Regions from separate parts of the Homo sapiens genome. Here regions 2 and 3 are each linked to region 1. The links are contacts of gene promoters, found by promoter capture Hi-C in blood cells and fetal thymus (Javierre and others, 2016). All regions are on one chromosome and are shown on one strand. The core of a region is centred on a gene start or on the middle of the fragment in contact, and the rest is flanking DNA. Distances in the headings are between cores, read along the strand shown. Region 1 holds the start of DAAM2 (dishevelled associated activator of morphogenesis 2). Region 2 overlaps KIF6 (kinesin family member 6). Region 3 overlaps KIF6 (kinesin family member 6).

Evidence for each region. Contacts are between HindIII fragments. The CHiCAGO score rates a contact against its expected background, and 5 or more counts as called.
Region 2: a fragment that was not itself captured here is called in contact with the fragment with the promoter of DAAM2 in region 1 in 1 of 17 cell types (endothelial precursors); the score reaches 5.8 in endothelial precursors.
Region 3: a fragment that was not itself captured here is called in contact with the fragment with the promoter of DAAM2 in region 1 in 1 of 17 cell types (endothelial precursors); the score reaches 5.0 in endothelial precursors.

The regions. Positions count from the first base shown.
Region 1 is chr6:39,790,621-39,794,030 of GRCh38, forward strand. It overlaps DAAM2 (dishevelled associated activator of morphogenesis 2), which reads left to right and starts at 1,756. Exons shown (of 25, transcript NM_001201427.2): 1 at 1,756-1,845. The HindIII fragment of the contact is 9,754 bases long and covers 1-3,410 here.
Region 2 is chr6:39,364,540-39,367,949 of GRCh38, forward strand. All of the region lies in intron 16 of KIF6 (kinesin family member 6), which reads right to left. It overlaps LOC107986594 (a long non-coding RNA gene), which reads left to right. Exons shown (of 4, transcript XR_001744111.2): 3 at 1,195-1,375. Among named protein-coding and RNA genes, the nearest start is that of KCNK16, 44 kb to the left of the region's middle. The HindIII fragment of the contact is 2,633 bases long and covers 399-3,031 here.
Region 3 is chr6:39,386,715-39,390,124 of GRCh38, forward strand. The region is part of intron 15 of KIF6 (kinesin family member 6); the gene reads right to left. LOC107986594 (a long non-coding RNA gene) reads left to right here. Exons shown (of 4, transcript XR_001744111.2): 4 at 1,595-2,726. Among named protein-coding and RNA genes, the nearest start is that of KCNK16, 66 kb to the left of the region's middle. The HindIII fragment of the contact is 646 bases long and covers 1,198-1,843 here.

The sequences.
Region 1 (3,410 bases), core at 506-3,005:
TCTTCTGTATTACAATCTCACTGGTCAGAACTTGGTCTCATAGCAATTGTGAGCTACCAGGGAGTCTGGGATGGTGAATATTGTAGATTTCTAACTTCTTTAGTTGAGAAAGGCAAGGGAGAATGGGTTTGTCAATGGCTTCTGGAAACCTATTTGCAGGGTCTGCTGAAGAACAGAGCTCACCTTGCCAGTGGAGCCTTGATATGAGAGAGGGAATGGAAGGAGGTAAAAGTGGGGTATTATGCCAGGGAGAGCAATCCCACAGTGACCAAACAGCAGCTCCCTGCTGCAGGGCCCTCGGTGGCTTGGGTCAAAACAGCGTGGCCTCTACCGAGAGGCCCAGCCCTAAGACAGCTCCTTCTGGCAATCAGCTCTAACCAGCTGCTGCCAAAGAGGTAAACACATTCCAAGTCCTTGAGTCCCTGCTGCACTGTAACTGTGGTTAAAACACAACCCCGCCTCTACCAGTTTGGGCTAATGGAAAGTTCACTATAGTTGTGTTTTAATGATGATTTGCAATTATCCGTGCCCCCTCCCATTCATGGTGAGATGAATACCTAAACACTTATGTTGTCTAACCATATAAGTATTTTGCATCTCACGTGTATCATTTTAAGTTCATTTCATTCTCCAATCCTTGGGAACCATGAAGGATAACACATTACATTCTCTTTTTTTTTTTTTTTTCCTCTGGAAGATCATGCATTACATTCTCTTTTTTTCTCTGGAAGGGTGGCCCTTAAACCAAGCCATTTCCCTAAGCCCCTTTGGTGAGGTGGAGAAACAGACAACCACTAACACAGAACAACCACTGAACACCCAGAAAACTGTATACAGGTCATCACCCAGTGGGGGCACCATTTGCTTGCAGAGGGAGCTGGGGAAAATAGGAAACAGAGAAGATCAAATACTCCCCGTGAGGGTGTTGCCAATCCCAGAGAGGACAATTGCTCTTGACCAAAGCAATCTCTAGTTCAGTCAAGGAGACAGACCACAATCACATTTAAAAAAAAAAGAAAAAAAAAAACTAAAAGGAAATTTTAAAAGTATGAATAAGAGCTATTGTAAACTGCTCAAACTATGCATACAAGCAATGAAGTAAGATGAATTGACTGGCACTGAATTGGAAAAGCTATACAGAGGCAGGGAGTGTGGAACATAATTTAATAAAAATAAACTTAAAAAAATATATATACACTCCCAAAAAAGAAATGGAAAAGTTGTTAGGGCGTGGACCAGGACTCCTAATTAGCTGTTCTGTTGTGCCTGATTTCGCTCCTGTCTTGCCCAGCACCCCTTGGGACACACTGTCCAGTGCAGGGACACTTTGGGGAGGGACAGGGGATTCCTTGGCACCGGGACCTTCACCTCCGAGCCGGCCTCAGACCAGGCCATTTGCCCGTAGCCCAGAGGAGGAGCCGGGGAGAAACCCGCTGCCCAGGTGGCCACTTTTGCCTCTTTGACCCTTCCATGTTTCCAAAACAGAAGGGGCCCTGAGAACGCTCCCTGCCAAAGTGGGGAACAGCTACCCTCATTGTACGCCTCGCCCTGCCGGTGGCGCTCTCCCCCCGCCTGCGTTCGGTCTGAAAGTGTGAAAATTACAAATCCCAAGAAACTGCAATCAGAAGTCTACCTAGGGAAAATTCAGAGTAACCTTGCCATAAATATCCCGCTCCAAGACGCCTGACGTCAGAGCGGGGCGGGCGGACGGGCGCGAGGCCGGGCCTGGAGGGGCGGCAGCCGCGGCTTCCCGGGGATAGCGCGGAGCACGCAGCAGCGAGCGGAGCGCGGGCGGCGGCGCCGTACCTCGGGCTGCGGGAGCGCGGGCGCCCTGGGGTCCTCGGAGTAAGTGCGGCCGGCCCTGGCGCTCCCCGTCTTGGGGCCCGGGCCGCGGGGAGCCCTCTCCGCTGGGCTCCCACACTTCTCTCCCTCTGCTTTCTTTAGCATGCCCCGCGGGGCTTGGGGAGGCAGCAGCTCCGCAGGCTGGCGGTTTTGTTTCTCCAAAGTGTTTGCAGGAGCCGCCGACCCCGGAGTGGGCTCCCAGGGCCTGTGTGTGTGTGAGTTGTGTGTGTGTATGAGTGTGATTGCGTGTGTCTGTACTGGCACATCTGGACATAGGAAATGTCTTTGGAAAACTTTTTAAAAATGTTTTTTGCGGCTTTGAAACCTGACCCCTGGTTGTCACAAGTGGACAAACACAGAAGATACCCCGCAAAACTGACAACTTTTTGGTGGTGGCTTTTCCGGGTTCGGCTTGAACCTTCACTTGGCTGGGCTGAAGTCTTCACAAGCCCCCAGCTCCCACTTGCAGGCCTGGCCTCTGGCCAGTGGGCAGGGCAGCCGTAAGGTTCTTGTTCTCAGTGGCAGTGGGACCCTGGGCGGGGGAAGGAGCATCTCAGGAAAGGGGTCCCCGGACTCTGGGGCTCTCAGCACCTGCGGTCGCAAACCAACCTCATGCCCTGACTTTACCAGGCGTCGGGACTCTGACTTAACCGGGGAATGAGGGACTTGGTCTGGCGGCAGGTAATTTTGTGAAGAGGATGAGAAGGAAGAGGGGGAGGTGGTGGTGATGGCCAGGACGCTGTGGCCCTGTGTCCAGCCGTAGCTTGGGAGTGGGATGGTTGGTTCTGCCACATGGCCACGGTGAGGTACGTGCCAGGTTCTCCAGGAGTGCCGCGTGTGGTGCCCCAAACAAGATGCAAGCTCCTAACATAAAGAGACGTGTCTGAGCTGTGGGGTGGAGGAAGGGGGGCGGTGGGGGAGAGGGAGATTTTTATCAAAATTGAACACAGATTGCTGAGATCTGGGCTTGATTTAACTCTTCTCTCTCTGCCTCGGCCACTTCTCCACAGTTTTGGAGTGGATTTGGAACGTTTCTCGGAGGGTTAGAGGAAAATCACACCTCTCCGGAAAAGAGTCCCCATAGGTTTTCCCTTGATGCCCACGTGGGAATGAAAGCAGCTTCCCATCTTTAAAAAGTTCAAAGTCTTGTGTTTTCCCCCTTCTGAGTTTGGTGTTAGTTTCCTGAGTTTCTTTGCAAAGCCAGCTGAAGCGGGGGATGGATTTTCCCTAGGGCCTAGGGCGGAAAGTGTGCTCCACGGAGAGTAGGGGAAAAAAGCAGCAGTGAGGCTGTATCGATCCATCATCCCTGAGTAGCACAGTGCCAGGCACTGCCTGTCAATAGCTGGGTTCCACAAACGAGTGACCACAGACAGACTGAATTTTCAGCTTTGAGCTAGCCAGGTCTCTGGTTTTGTATTTTGCAGTAGAGCCAACCTACAATGTCTGGGTGGGAGGAAGATTACTGGACTCTCCCTCTGTCCTAGAAAAATGAGAAAATGAAGGGACAGGGAGGAAATCTGGATGTAAAAACAGACCCACAGGAAGTTAAGATTCAGGAAGGATTTTAG
Region 2 (3,410 bases), core at 465-2,964, 430 kb before region 1:
GAAAGGTATAGAGTAGAGTAGGGCTCCTCTTACCTTTTAAAAATTTAAGCTCTATATTTTTGTAGTAGGTGAATTACTAACAATGACCATTTACTGGGGACTTTCTATGTTCTAAGTTCTGCCAAATTCTACTAGGCACTGGGCTAGGTCCTCCATGTACCCTATTGCTAATTCTCAAAATAACCCTTCAAGGATGGCATTGCCATCTTCTTTCAGCTAGATTCTTGGTCTCAGAGAGGGCCATGGATAACTCAAGGTTACATAGCTACTAAATAGCAGAGCTGGGATGTGAACCCATTTGTTTTTTTCTGATTCCAAGGAGCTAAATGTTTCTACCAGACAGCCTCCCCAACACTGCTTATGATTTTTAGCAGCTCTGTCGTGGTTGGCCCCTATTAAGCTTGTGGTCAGTTTTAAAACTTGCATTTTTTAAAAATAAGTGATTGTTAAAATGCGTCCTGTTTCAGTGTGATTGTCCTTTTGATCCCAAAGGCAACACTTCACATTTATTGGCAGCCTAGTCTGCTGAGAGGTCCTTATTCTGTCACGCCATTATTCTTCCCCTTTGACTCCCTTACCCATTTGTTACCTGTGTCTTTTGTGTCATTAGCTTACTGATAACTATGCTAACTGGATCACGATTCTGTCTGTCATCTTCCAGGTGCCATTGACCCCCCTTTTCCTTATGTCAATTGCCAACTTTAAATCGACAGGCAGAGCAAGTGTCTTATTTCATTATCTAAACACAGGACATGCAGATACCATCAACATCCCACCTGAAGTCCACACTGTCATCTGTGTTGGTGCAATTTATTGGCTCAGATGAGGCAGCCCGCCTGTCCACATCACCCACAGCCCCCCAAGTCTCAGGCACAGGAAGCCCTCAAGGGCAGAGATTGGGGTCCTCCTGCTCTTAGTGTCTTCCCCCAGTGCTGTGTTCAGACTCCATGAGTCACTCCATGAGGGTGACTCAGTGCCTCGCATGTTTGCTGGCCTTGCCTTCTTTGAAAGTCATCAGACATGATAAACTGAAGGAAGTATCTTAATATGAAACCGACAATGGTAGGACTTTCAATGGACAAACAATTCCTTTTTAAAAAGTTTCAGAAATGGGCCCAGGTATCTTCCAGCCTGCTAAAAAAGTAACACTGTGAATTTCCTTCCTCCTTTTAACACTTTTGTCCCCACCCCAAGGACACCCCCAAGAAATTCAGTGAAGCCCCACTCTGCGGTGACTGGCTAGACGTCCTGCTGCAAGCCCAGTACGTGAGAGACTGCTGGAGGCGGGCGGAGGAAGGGCTGCTGGACTCACACAGGGCCATCTCACCCGGCCAGAAGAGGCAGTCTCCAGGCCTTGGTGAACAGACAGCAGAAGGTAGGGGGGACGGCCAGGGCGGCCTGCTTTTCCATTTAAAGGCTGCGGTCACCCCATGTGAACGCAGAGCCCCTCTGTAGGAGGCAGGCTCTTGCCTCAGCCCATGACTGGTTGTCTTTTCCTTGGGCATCTTGCAGGTTCCCTGGCAGGTCACAGAGTCTCAGGTGCCCTGGAAGTGTGTGGGGTGCTCGGGAGCCTTAGGCAAGGAGCACATTCTGAATGCAGCTGACACAAGCACAGAATGATAACATCAACGCCATCTGGGGAGTCGCTTGAGCCCATTCCCTGCGCAACACCACTTTCATTCTCACCACCTCAGCTGGCAGACATGATCACCTCTGCTTCACAATCAGGAAGACCAAGGCTTAGGGTGACTGGGTGGCTTGTGCGATGCCACAAAGCTACCAAATAGCAGCGCCAGGCTTTGGATCCAAGTCTAGTCACTCATCCGCTTATTTAACAAATGTTTATCGAGCATTGACTATGTGCCTGCCCCTGTTCTAGGGGGATTCCAGTGGGGAAGACAGACACTAAAACCACAAACAATTGAGTCTGCAACATCATGCTGGGGATCGGAAGGTGCTATGAGGAAAGACAAAGCTGGGTAAAAAGACAGGATGACAGGGTGGAAGACTGCCATGCTAGGTAGGGTGGGTGAGGGCCTCTAAGTGGGGGGACATTTGAGCAGTGACCTGAATGGAGGAAGGGAACAGGCATGCAGAAATCGGGGCACAGAATGTGCAACAGTAAGTGCAAAAGGCCTGAGGTGTGAGCCTGCTTGCTGCATCTAACAACAATGAGAAGGCCAGGAGCGGTTGGGAAGGGAAATCGTGGTGGGAGCTGAAGTCAGTGAAGAAACTGAGGCCAGACCCTGGAGGATCTTGGGAGCCATGGTAAGGACACTGGCTTTGAGAGAGATGGGAGTATTTTGAGGAGAGGAATGGGCTCGATCTATTCCTTTGAAAGCTAAGTTGAGCATTTTTTTTTTTTTTGCTGATCAAGACAAAGCTACTCCAAATTGAACAACAGTTAATGTGGAGGTGGCGCCAGGAAGCCGGGAGTCTGTTGAAAGGGTCTGGGAAAGAAAGCTGGGGCAAGGGACCTTGGGAAGCCAGAATGAGGGCACAGCACACTCCACGACACAAACTACCCACGTTGTCATGACAACCAAATGGGCCTGCTGCCCAAGGTGATGTCTGCTTGGTGAAATGCATTGCAGCCTCACCAGGAGACAGCCTCTGGCTGCTTCTGATATGTTCTGAGGCTTGGCTCATCAGTAACCTCTGAAGAGAAATAGGGGCTGGGAACTCAAAGGGAACCAAATAAAAGCCACTGAGCAAGAACAGAAGAAGAGGGAGTAACTACAAAGGGCATTTGAGTTTTGTAGGTCTCCATCCCCACGGGGACTCTGGCCAGGGACAGAGCCTCCCATCACCTGACAGGAGGCACAGGGAGCCCTCCTTTCAAGGACAGGATTCTGGCTGGGACAGCAGCACAGGAGCTCACAGTGCCGAGTGGCCTGCGAGGTCACACTGTTCATCTGTGGGGAGGCAGCTGCCTCCAAAGCAGTACAAAAGCAAGAGAAGGGTTTCACTCAGTGGCTGTAGGTCTGAATGGCACACAGGAAGAAGCCCTGAGCAGTCAAACAGTAACTGAAGCTTCAAGTTGGGAGGACGCACAGACGCACAGTCCCAGGCTGACCTTATCTCTGAAGTCACGGGTGTTTTGGAATTAGCCGTGCAAGGACCAGAGGGGCTCTTGCTGGGAAGGCCAGTCAAGATGTGGACCCCCTCCTTCCTGACATAATTTCTACTGGAAAGATCTCTGCAACTCCTTGTCCCACTTCCCCATGCCCTCCTCTCAAACGCTCTCTCTCCCACGCAGTTATCTGATATTTGAAATGTGCAGAATAGTTTTTTTGGTTCAATGGTTCTCAACTGGGGGTGCACATCAGAATCACTTAAGGAGCTTGTAAAAGCACACAGACAGCTGGGCCCTACTCCAGACCTACTGAGTTAAAATTTGTCAATAGGGT
Region 3 (3,410 bases), core at 271-2,770, 400 kb before region 1:
GGCTTCCTCCGTCTCTAAAATTCCATGATTTCGTGCATGAAGGAGGGGTGAAACAGCAGCCCGGAGTTTGTTTATGTCCAAGGGCTCAGCACACTTGTTAAAATGTCAGTGCTGTCTGTATGGCATGTCCCATTTGGGGGATGTGATCAGGCCACTGGGGGATTCCAAGAAAGCCTGGAAAATTCATTGCTTCCTTGTTTAAGATATTTCTTTCCTCACATAAGTACATTCTATACCTCCAAGGCTATAGCTGAATTGAGTATTCAAAAGATGAGTAGATGAGGAAGCAGTCACAAGAGACTTTATCATTTATGGAGAGTTTTAGGGCACCTCTAGAATGTTATAATTGGGAGAGATGGCAGAGGTCATTCAGTTCAACTTTGCAGTCAATTTAGGAATCCCTTCTACAGAAGGAAATGGGCATTTCCCTTCTGACTTGTATGTATTCGAGCTATTCCATTAAGTTATATGTAAGGAATTAATTATGTGGAGTTGCATCTGCTTCCCTATAATCTTCAGCTATGTGCCTGGCCTGTTTTCTGGATCAGCACAGAAAAAGATCCTCTGTCATTGGCATAGGATCTTCACATATCTGAGGATGCTATGATTGATTTCTCTACTTCGACTTGCCCTTTATGGAGGTCAAACATCACCAGTCCTTAGGTAATACCTCGGAGGCCACTATCTCCAGACACATCATTGTCTTGGGAAAGGGTCTGGGGCACCTGCATGTCTGTGCCTTGGTTTCCATGTGTCCCTACTGGAGAGAATTATGCATAGAGAGCGTGGCAGGCATTGGGACTAAACAATAATTGCACCCTTATTCCATGTGGGGGAAGGGTGGGAACTTCAGGAGTGTGCTGAGGGGGATTTGGGGAAGTGGAAACTTGACCCAATGATGAGTATTGGTGAACCTGGATCCAACAGGAAAATGACTTGACACCTGAGCCAGCCACAGCCCCAAATGGATCTTTTCCCTACTCAGTGCAATTTGACCCTTATTGTCCATATAAGCAGAGTAAAGAAGTTGGGGACATAAGGCTGCTGCTGGACTGAGACTCTAGGCTGCATCAAACACTGCTGAATTAAATTTTAAGATGGGATAGCACATGCATGCTCCAAATAAAAGGAGATATTGCTGTGACAAATGCAACACACCATTTAGAAACATCTCTTGATTTAGAGTGAGTCATCAAAAGCTTTTTAATCCTGCAGTATGGAGAGTCAGTGGTGCTTTGGTGCCCTGCCTGTTTCCTGGGTATCCGGCACAGCCTTATACCACGAGCCTCTCATATGACTGGGTACTGCCTTCCTAATGAGCCTGGACAGTGGCTTGCTCCTTTAGAGCACACACTGGTTTGCACTGCTTCCTGGAAACTACCTCCCTGCTAATAAGCCTTCCCAGTAATAAGCCTCCCTGACAATGCGCCTCCTGACACATGCTTCCTCAAGTCTGTGCCTCCAAACCCCATGCCTTGACCAGAGTAGGTGTGCTCAACCTGGTATGTTACAATTTCTTCAGCGCCTATTGGAACGACCAAGTTCCTTTTTCCCAAACCCTAAGGAAGTATTTTTTTTTTTTTGGAATGACCAGGTTTAAGGATTCTCCACTGCCCCTGGTTTGGGAGGAGCTGCTCACGTAAATAAAGAGGGGATTTTGCCACCACAAGCATAAATACTCACTCTCAGAACAACGAGGCACCACCAGGGAACAAAAGGTGGGTCTTTATAATGTTACATATTGATAAAGGTTGTTTTACAATGCCGCTAGTGATACTCAGTTTTGGTGAATTGACTAACATCTCCCACCACATGGCAAGTTTTTTTTTATTTCCCCCAAACAAGCTTCCAAAAATAGCCTTATGGCTGATACCTAATTGCATTTCTAACAGAGCTATTCTTCATGTGCAGATAACAGTCTCTGTAACCTGCTGGATCTTGCAGCTTTATGGGTTTTGGCAAAAAAAGGAGTTGAGGGGGATTGCAGAATTCACTCAGCATGCAGCTTGCTGTCATTACCACGGTGATAAATTTGCTGGTTTTGGCCTGGGTTCCTGGACACATCCCCATCCAGAGGTATGGAAAAGAGATGAAATGGAAACAGAGAACTCCCAGCCTGAGGCCGGAGACAGTCTGGGAGGGAAGTAGGGAGCCCAGAATGGGGCTGAAAACCAAAAGGGTAGGGGAGGGAAGGAATGCTCTGCCTGCAGGAGTGTCCATAATTAGTAATTTTTCCTTCAGTAATTTACCACAGTACATGCTAGAAACACCTTCTCTCCCTTTTGATACATTAATTGATGGATTGTGGGTGGCAGCGGGGAGCAGAGCTTACAGCAATCCACGGGAAAGCTCCAGAGGAGACGGGTGACCTTAAATATGACCGCGAGCAGGGTATGTGGAGGTGGTGCTCTGTGTGGTATATGGGTTTTCTCTGTTACTGAGTAGTTCTAGGGAAAGTATTATCATCATGCAGAAGTGAAACTGATTTTTTTACATCAGTATTCAGTCTTCTGAATAAAACCATTTTCCATAAGCTTCACACTCTATTTTGCACGCATGCTAGTTTGAGATTATTCACGTGAACGCTGCTTGGCTGGCCTGGAGGAGAGCTATTCACTTACGACTCCCTGAGTGGCTGTCTGCTGCTCCTGCAATTTCTGGGATGCTGTGCCTCATTCAACATGTTTATGTTGCTATCAAACAATAAATACTTATCTCTCATCTACTATCGGTTAAGCACTATGTTCTAAGTGCTGTGGAATATACACACTCGTAGAAGGCTCTATCCTAACCTAGGAAAGTCAGTGCAGTACAGGGATCAGCAAATAGGTGGCCCGTGTGCTCTTTCTTTTAAGTGCTGGACCAACGGCTGGCCTTGCTCCTCCATCAGGGATGGTTTGCTTTCCTGCTGAGCCTGAGTTTGGCTCTTCCACACAGCACTCTGGGCAGCTATAGCCCATCACTTGAAGTTGGACTTGAGATGAAGCAAACCTCTTTGCTATTTCAGTTATTCTAGAAAATAATTACAAATCTGGGCCAGGCATGGTGGTTCATGCCTGTAATCCCAGCACTTTGGGAGGCCAAGGTGGGTGGATCACCTGAGGTCAGGAGTTTAAGACTAGTCTGGCCAACATGGCAAAACTCCATCTCTACTAAAAATACAAAAATTAGCTGGGCATGGTGACGGGCACCTGTAATCCCAGCTACTTGGGACACTGAGGCAGGAGAATCACTTGAACCTGGGAGGCAGAGGTTGCAATGAGCCAAGATCGCGCCGCTGCACTCCAGCCTGGGCAACAGAATGAGACTCTGTCTCCAAAAAAAAAAAAAAAAAAAAAGGAAATAATTACAAATCTGGAGGTAGACGAAGTTGAGTTCAAATCCCAGTTTTGCTACTTCTTAGTTGAATG